Regions from separate parts of the Homo sapiens genome. Here region 1 is linked to region 2. The links are contacts of gene promoters, found by promoter capture Hi-C in blood cells and fetal thymus (Javierre and others, 2016). All regions are on one chromosome and are shown on one strand. Each heading gives the region's core, a stretch centred on a gene start or on the middle of the fragment in contact. The rest is flanking DNA. Distances are from core to core; before and after follow the strand shown. Region 1 holds the start of PDE1A (phosphodiesterase 1A). Region 2 holds the start of FRZB (frizzled related protein).

Region 1 (3,337 bases), core at 641-3,140, 440 kb before region 2:
TATGTGTTTGAATAGTTAAGATTTTGTAAAATGTATTTTCAGGAGTTGATAAGAGTTTGTGCACAAAGTTTCAGAAAACAGAAAACAAAAAGGCTCCCTCAGTATGCCTGAAGTTAAACTTTAAGCACTCTTGATTGCTCTGCTGTAGCTTAGTGGCAGAATCCCCAAATTAAGGATGAAGGGAGAAACTATTGTTCCTGACAGCCCTAGAGCCACCTGCGATGTAGCATTACTTACCTAAAGATGGGTCTTTGGAGATGTTTCTTCCTGATTGTGACATGGTCATCCATTTAAAGGTGAAGGTTTAACTTCTTCCTGGAAACCACTCCAGAAACTCCAGAGAGGAAATGTGGAAGCTTATCCTGATCTATTGTGCTGCAAGGAGCCCAGAAAGAAAAAGTAGTTTCCTCTTTCTCTTTTTGGGTGCTGGGAGAAAACTTCCCTGTTCTCTGCCAGCTGAGCAGTGTGTCCATAGAGGCCACATAAGACAGGCACGTTGGGGCACTCCCCCACAGAGCAGGGTGTGCAAAAACCACCAAGAGTCACGTTGATCCAGGCAAGAGAAGTGCACGGGACCCTCCGAAACAGAACAAAACAAACAGAAAACTTCCTACCCCAGTGTCATCCAGGTAGGAACTCCCTAAGTTATTGCAGCCATGAGAGCTCTCCTTCCACATGCTGGTCAAGCTCCGAAAGGCTAAGTCCCTCCCTGTCTTTAAAACAGACTGTTCTGAGGCTCAACTTTTTTTCTTCAAAATAAAAGTTGTACAGCTGGTTCAGCAGCCCCATGTGAGTACCCTCTGAAAGTTTGTTCTCTTAAAATAAGAACTGTATACAAATTAATGAAGAAAGATAGGCTCGGGTTGCATGGCTGGCTCTGCTTCAGATTATAATTATTTTACAATCTTGCTTGTATTCATGCTGGCTGAAGTGTGGAGACGACTCATCATTTTTAGCACTTATAATCTAATAACCTCCTCTTGGCTGAAGTTGAAGATGCCATATCAACTGATAGAAGCCCATGCGAAGCTGACCAGAGCTACAAAAGTTAGAAAAACAAAAATTGCTAATTTCTACTGGTGACATTATACCCAGATGTCTGTACCCAAATGTGGTTTCCAACTAAGAGGAAACATCTCTTGCAAAAAAGAGATGGAAACACACACACACATCCACATGCTTTTTTTTAACAAAAAGCCCCTCCAAAGTGCCTGGGAGCCTATGGTTTATATATTATGTGATGAAATTTGGATTTATAAAAGTAAAAGGAAAGAAAAGAAGGTATAAAAGAATTTGTGAACAGCTGAAAATAAATGATATTAAAAATTGTTTTCTTTTAGAAGACAGATTTACACTGCGGGAACTCTTATTCTAGCTCCAGATAAAGGGAATGCTCGTATTTTAATGTAACTTATTTTGGAGACCTTCCTGTATCTGAATCACTAACAAAGTTCCTATTCAGTCAATAATGTCATAAGATTCCAGGTCAGAGATTTGTAATAAACTAAATCATTTCAAAGCATGATTAGAATGTTTTTAATATATACATGTAATAAAAAGGGAAAAATGAGTAACGTGCATGCCTTTAGTTGAATGATCCATAAAAATAAAGATCAAATGTCACAAAGGAGGATACTATCTGTAGTTATTGGCACTCTCCAAATACTTCCAGGGAGAAAGATCACCTTTTTATTTTCCTCCCTGAGGAGAGATAAGGAAGGAGAAGAGAGTTATAAGGGAATCATGGATTTTATCGAGCCGTTCTAATCCAAACTAGGAAATGTAATCATTATGAGAGCATTGAACTAAAAATAAAATAAATGGGTTCTAGTCCTAGTTCTATTGCAAATATGCCGGGCCACTGTGGGCAAATTTCTTGACCTGTCTGAGACCATTTTCTTGTTTGTAAAATGAAATTATAATATTAATTGAATTCTATATTTCTTTCCAGCTTTAATGGTACTATCATGTTATTTCTAAATCTGATTCGCCTGCTTCTTGCAAAGAAACTGCCATAGAAGTTATGATGCCTGATACTTCAAAAACTACACACTTATTATGTACTGTTATAAATAAATAAGGAAGCTATAAATAAAAAGATGATTTTATATTATGTATAACATATTTATATAGATATTACATAGTTATGTAGTGACATCTATGTCACTGTTCTCTTTATGATCAATAAGTACCAATGATAAATTCACATGTGTGCTATACAGCAGTTAAATATACTGACCATGTATAAACAAACTTAGATACAGATCTTTGAAGCAGATGCTTTATTATTACCATATGCTTTGGCTTTCTTTGTATTTAGGAAAGCACATAAGAAATAACACATTGTACAGGTCTTCTGGGAGGGATTTTGCGTTTGTGGGTAGCATTCAATTTCTGTAGTCATGGTTTACCTATATTACCATTAATATAGCATAAATCTTCCTCCTGAGGGAAAATTCAAGAAAATAATAAGCCCATCAACTTTTAAAAATTAACTTTCATTTTGTCTTCTTTTGAATTGGAAATGTGAGACAATTTCTACATGAACACAATGGAGGGAACTCAACATAAATACTAATAAACATCTAGCCAAGGTACAGTTCAAACGGCAAGCAAGTATGAAATATAGCTTGAAGTCCAAAGGCTTGATTACCAGCTGAAGAATCTGAAAGTTGTTAATCATAGGAAATCCATAACATACTTCATTACCTTAGGTTTATATTCTTTTTTCTTTCTGTGATTAAGTTAGAAAGTTTAGATTCACTTTATGGAAAGCACTATATTTAAAACCAATCTGAGACCCTATAAAGCATTCAGATGATACCAGTAAATTAAATATTCACTGGGCACAAAGAAAAATATATATTTCTTAAATGTTTTTATTAGCTTTTTCTCAAAGAACATTTAAATTTAACATTGGAAAAAAGTTGGCTTTATCACCTTATTCAACTTTAATGTAGTATTCAATAAGACAAAGATTTCATGATTATTAATTAAATTACTAAAATATATTCCTTACATTAACACAACTGTAGTGTGCAAAATACTAAAATATATGGCATAAATAAAAAGGCCAAGTCTTCTATACAATAGACTATAATTTATTATGAATAGTTTTTTTCCTGAGGGGGGTCAGAAAGGGTGTTTTTATTTTTCCTGTTGTGGAAAAACAAAGTCAGGCTGACTTAGTCTAACACGTTCACACACATACCCTACCCGACTCAGTGCTGTTAGAAATCGTCCTAACTGGTGCTCAATAAATATGTTAATTTTCTAAAACACAAATCAGCTGAAACACACCAAGAATTCCATCTAACCAACTCATTTTGTGTGACAA
Region 2 (3,237 bases), core at 190-2,689:
TTTTTTTTTCAAAACATGAGAGTGGAATAAGGGGTGAGATTTAAAATAACATTACGTGAGTGTATGATAACACGCCTTAAATATAACTCCTTTCATCTGTATGCCACTTATAAAATGACTTGAAGGCATGTGGGCATGTGAAAAGAGCTCAGTAATTTCAGTCTGCCAGCTCTATGGCAAGCCACAGAAGCTAATTAACAGTGCATAGCAATGTTTCACAATTGTTTCATTCTGGAATGGAAGAACAATTTATCTCATTGAAAGGAGGGGGAAATTTAAGGTGAAGGTAATTGCTCAAACTGGATCTTGAGCAAACACATACCCCTAACATCTGTCGGTTAGAGTAAGGTTATTGAAATTATCTTGGCATTTTTAATTAGAAGAAAATGGGGCTTCAGTTTTCTGTTTCCTCCACACAATCTTAACAAGCATCTAAGACACTAAAGATACAGAAACCTGATGACTGAGATTGCCTGAGAATCAGCAAAGAAAACCCAATGATTATAAACACATTTTAAAAGAAAAAGAGCATCACTTTACAAAATGTGGCTACTTGCACATGTAAGGAGTTGAAGTGAAGGATTCCTGTGGAGTAGAAGTGTGATGGGTTTGGAATGCATGGATTGTTTTAGAAAGATCGCCTATTGGAACACAGTGCCAGAGTGCATCAGTTTGGAAGGTGATAAGGTGAGGGTTTTTTTGTTTTTGTTTTTGAAAAAAGAAGAAAGAAGAAGAAGGGTCTTTGATAGAGGAGCAGTTATGGGAGAGATTAAGTGATCCGAAGAGAAAAAAATTAGAGAGTAAAGGCTAGTAACAAGGACTCCAAGAATTGAGGAGGCTGTAGGGTAAGGGAAGGGTGGGCCGTGTCAAAACTCACCAGCTCCGTCCGCAGTAACGATGGCCTCGGGAGAGATGCACACGCCCCTGTCGTACACTGGCAGCTCCTCGCAGGCCAGGTTCTCCGGCCACGAGTGGCGGTACTTGATGAGTATGGGCTCACAGCCCTGCCGGGCCCGCTCGCACACAGACTTACAGGGCTTGATGGGCTCGTGCTGGAAGTCAATGGTGCAGATGGGCGCGTACATGGCACAGAGGAAGAAGAGCAGATCGGGGCTGCAGTGGGTGCCCAGCAGACCTTCGAACTGCTCGATGGCCAGGATGGCGTTGGCCTGAGTGCTGTGGTGCAGGTGGTTGGGCATCTTAGTCATGTTCCAGGGCAGGGACTTGCACAGGGGGATGCGGACGGGCTCACAGGCTGCAGCCCGAGCCCCGGGCACCCGGAGCAGGCAGAGAGCAGCCAGGGCAAGCAGCCCGGCCCGCAGCAGCAGCATCCCTCCCGGGCTGCCGCAGACCATGATCCCGGCAGGATGGGGCAGGGTGCAGCCGCGCAGTGGACGCCAAAAGGCCCGCTCCGCCGTCTCCGCCTCCCCCGCTGCAAGTGGACACAAGGATCTGGGAGCTTCTCCTCCCCCGGCAATCACCGCTTCCTTGGATCAAATTCCCCCAATGGGGTCCCACGAGCTTTACCGAGCTCCAGCCACCGCCCCTGCCGCCCAGGCTGCTCTTTCCCAACGTCTAAGCCTTCGGAAGCAGCAACATCTATTTATTCCTCTCCCTCTGGCAGAAGCATCAGACTTCGCAGATCAGTCAGATAAGAGGGACACGAGAGGAGGCGAGGAAGACATAAAAACAAAAGTAGAATTCAGCTGAGAGCTAGTTGGAGCTCTGGGGTGTCTCCTCCCCTAGATCACGCACACAAAAAGATGCTAAAGAAAGCATTAAATTCCCCAAAGTGAGGAGGACAGAGGGGTTGGGGGGAAGGAGGGAGGAAAAGCTCCTAATGGGAGAGAAGGGTGCAGTAAGAGTTTACAAGTCCTGTGTGGGCTAAGAGCTGCGGCCGCCGCTGCGGCTGCGACCCTGGCTGGCAGGAGGGACGCTCAGGAGGAGCCCCGCAGGGACGTCTGTGCCTCTGCCCGGGCGGCTCTGCACTTTCCTACCTCCCGCCTGAGAGGGAGCTCCGCCCCTGGGGCAGTCTCTGCCCTCCAGTGCCGGCTGCTCTTCCCGAGAATGGAGTGGGCGCCCGGGGAAGAGAAGGCCTGGGAGTCGCAGGCGGTGGGGTGCGAAGCCGTGCGAGTGCGAGACCCCAAGACAGCGCCGAGTCGAGCGCGCCCTCACACTAGGGAACCCGTCTTTGGCCCCAGAAACGAGCCCCTAGCCCCTCACTGAAGAGCCCACCCCAATTCCCTACGGAAAAGTCCCCCTAGTTCCCCACTTGGGAACCCACCCGAGACCCTCCTTCCTGGAGGTATTTCCTTTAAGCAAACTACAGCTTTTCCTCTGCAATCACTGGCTCTGCAGAAAGTCAGACCTGGTGGGGGGAAAGGCTTAAGCAATGTCACTTTGTCCAAGTAGCGGAAAACACAGACCCCTGCGAGCAACGGTGGAGCCATATCAACCCAGAGCTAGTGACTACAGAGGTCTCCATTTTCAATAACTGCGGGGGAGGAGGTGGGGGGAGGATTGCCTTTAAAAAAAAAAAAAAAGAGAGAGAGAAACAAAGAAATGCTGTTCATGACTACAAATAGGCCACCAGAAGCAAGGAAAAGGGGTTTTTTCCTTCTATTCCCGCCCCCCCCACCTAGTGGAATTAGAACTCTTGAGCTTTGCTCCTTAAGGGTTAACGTGGAAACTAACAGCTCTAATACACTTGGACTTTTTTTTTCTGATTTTGCTCACGGATAACATGGCAGATATTATTTGTTATTCTCAGCAACAATTCTGCCCGACACTTAAAAAAAAAGTGTAGGAAAACGACATCACGCAGGTAATAATGATGATTATAACAACAATCAAAACCTTTCCATCCAGATGAGTTCAATCTGGAGGAGAAAATGGAAAACAGATCCCCTCCTGGTCTGCTTCTTCCACTAATGAGCTCCCTCTTCCCCCCACCCCCGCCCCACTCTACCCTTTCAGCTTATATTGTAAATGGAATGACCTGCAGAGGCCTTCACACTATGCCCTCTCAATGGGAAATCACTGAGCAAAAGGATTGCCGAATGTCAGAAAACACAGCCTTCATTGAGAGGAGAAGGAAACAAAACCTGAAACAAAACAGGAAGTCACCTTTGCTCTGCATCACTGAAATATTTCTCTGCTTCAATTTAGCCATCTCTCACCGTCCATAACAAGCAGAGAAATATGTCCCCACTTCAGAGCACATAGTGAGATGCTCAT

The links. The method cuts DNA at HindIII sites, captures the fragments that hold promoters and counts their contacts. A CHiCAGO score of 5 or more calls a contact.
Region 1: a fragment that was not itself captured here is called in contact with the fragment with the promoter of FRZB in region 2 in 1 of 17 cell types (neutrophils); the score reaches 5.6 in neutrophils.

Annotation. Positions count from the first base shown.
Region 1 is chr2:182,426,341-182,429,677 of GRCh38, forward strand. It overlaps PDE1A (phosphodiesterase 1A), which reads right to left and starts at 696. Exons shown (of 15, transcript NM_001363871.4): 1 at 238-696. The coding sequence starts at 290. The HindIII fragment of the contact is 3,073 bases long and covers 355-3,337 here.
Region 2 is chr2:182,865,198-182,868,434 of GRCh38, forward strand. FRZB (frizzled related protein) reads right to left here and starts at 1,440. Exons shown (of 6, transcript NM_001463.4): 1 at 878-1,440. The coding sequence starts at 1,355. RefSeq lists an enhancer at 603-1,571. The HindIII fragment of the contact is 6,424 bases long and covers 1-3,237 here.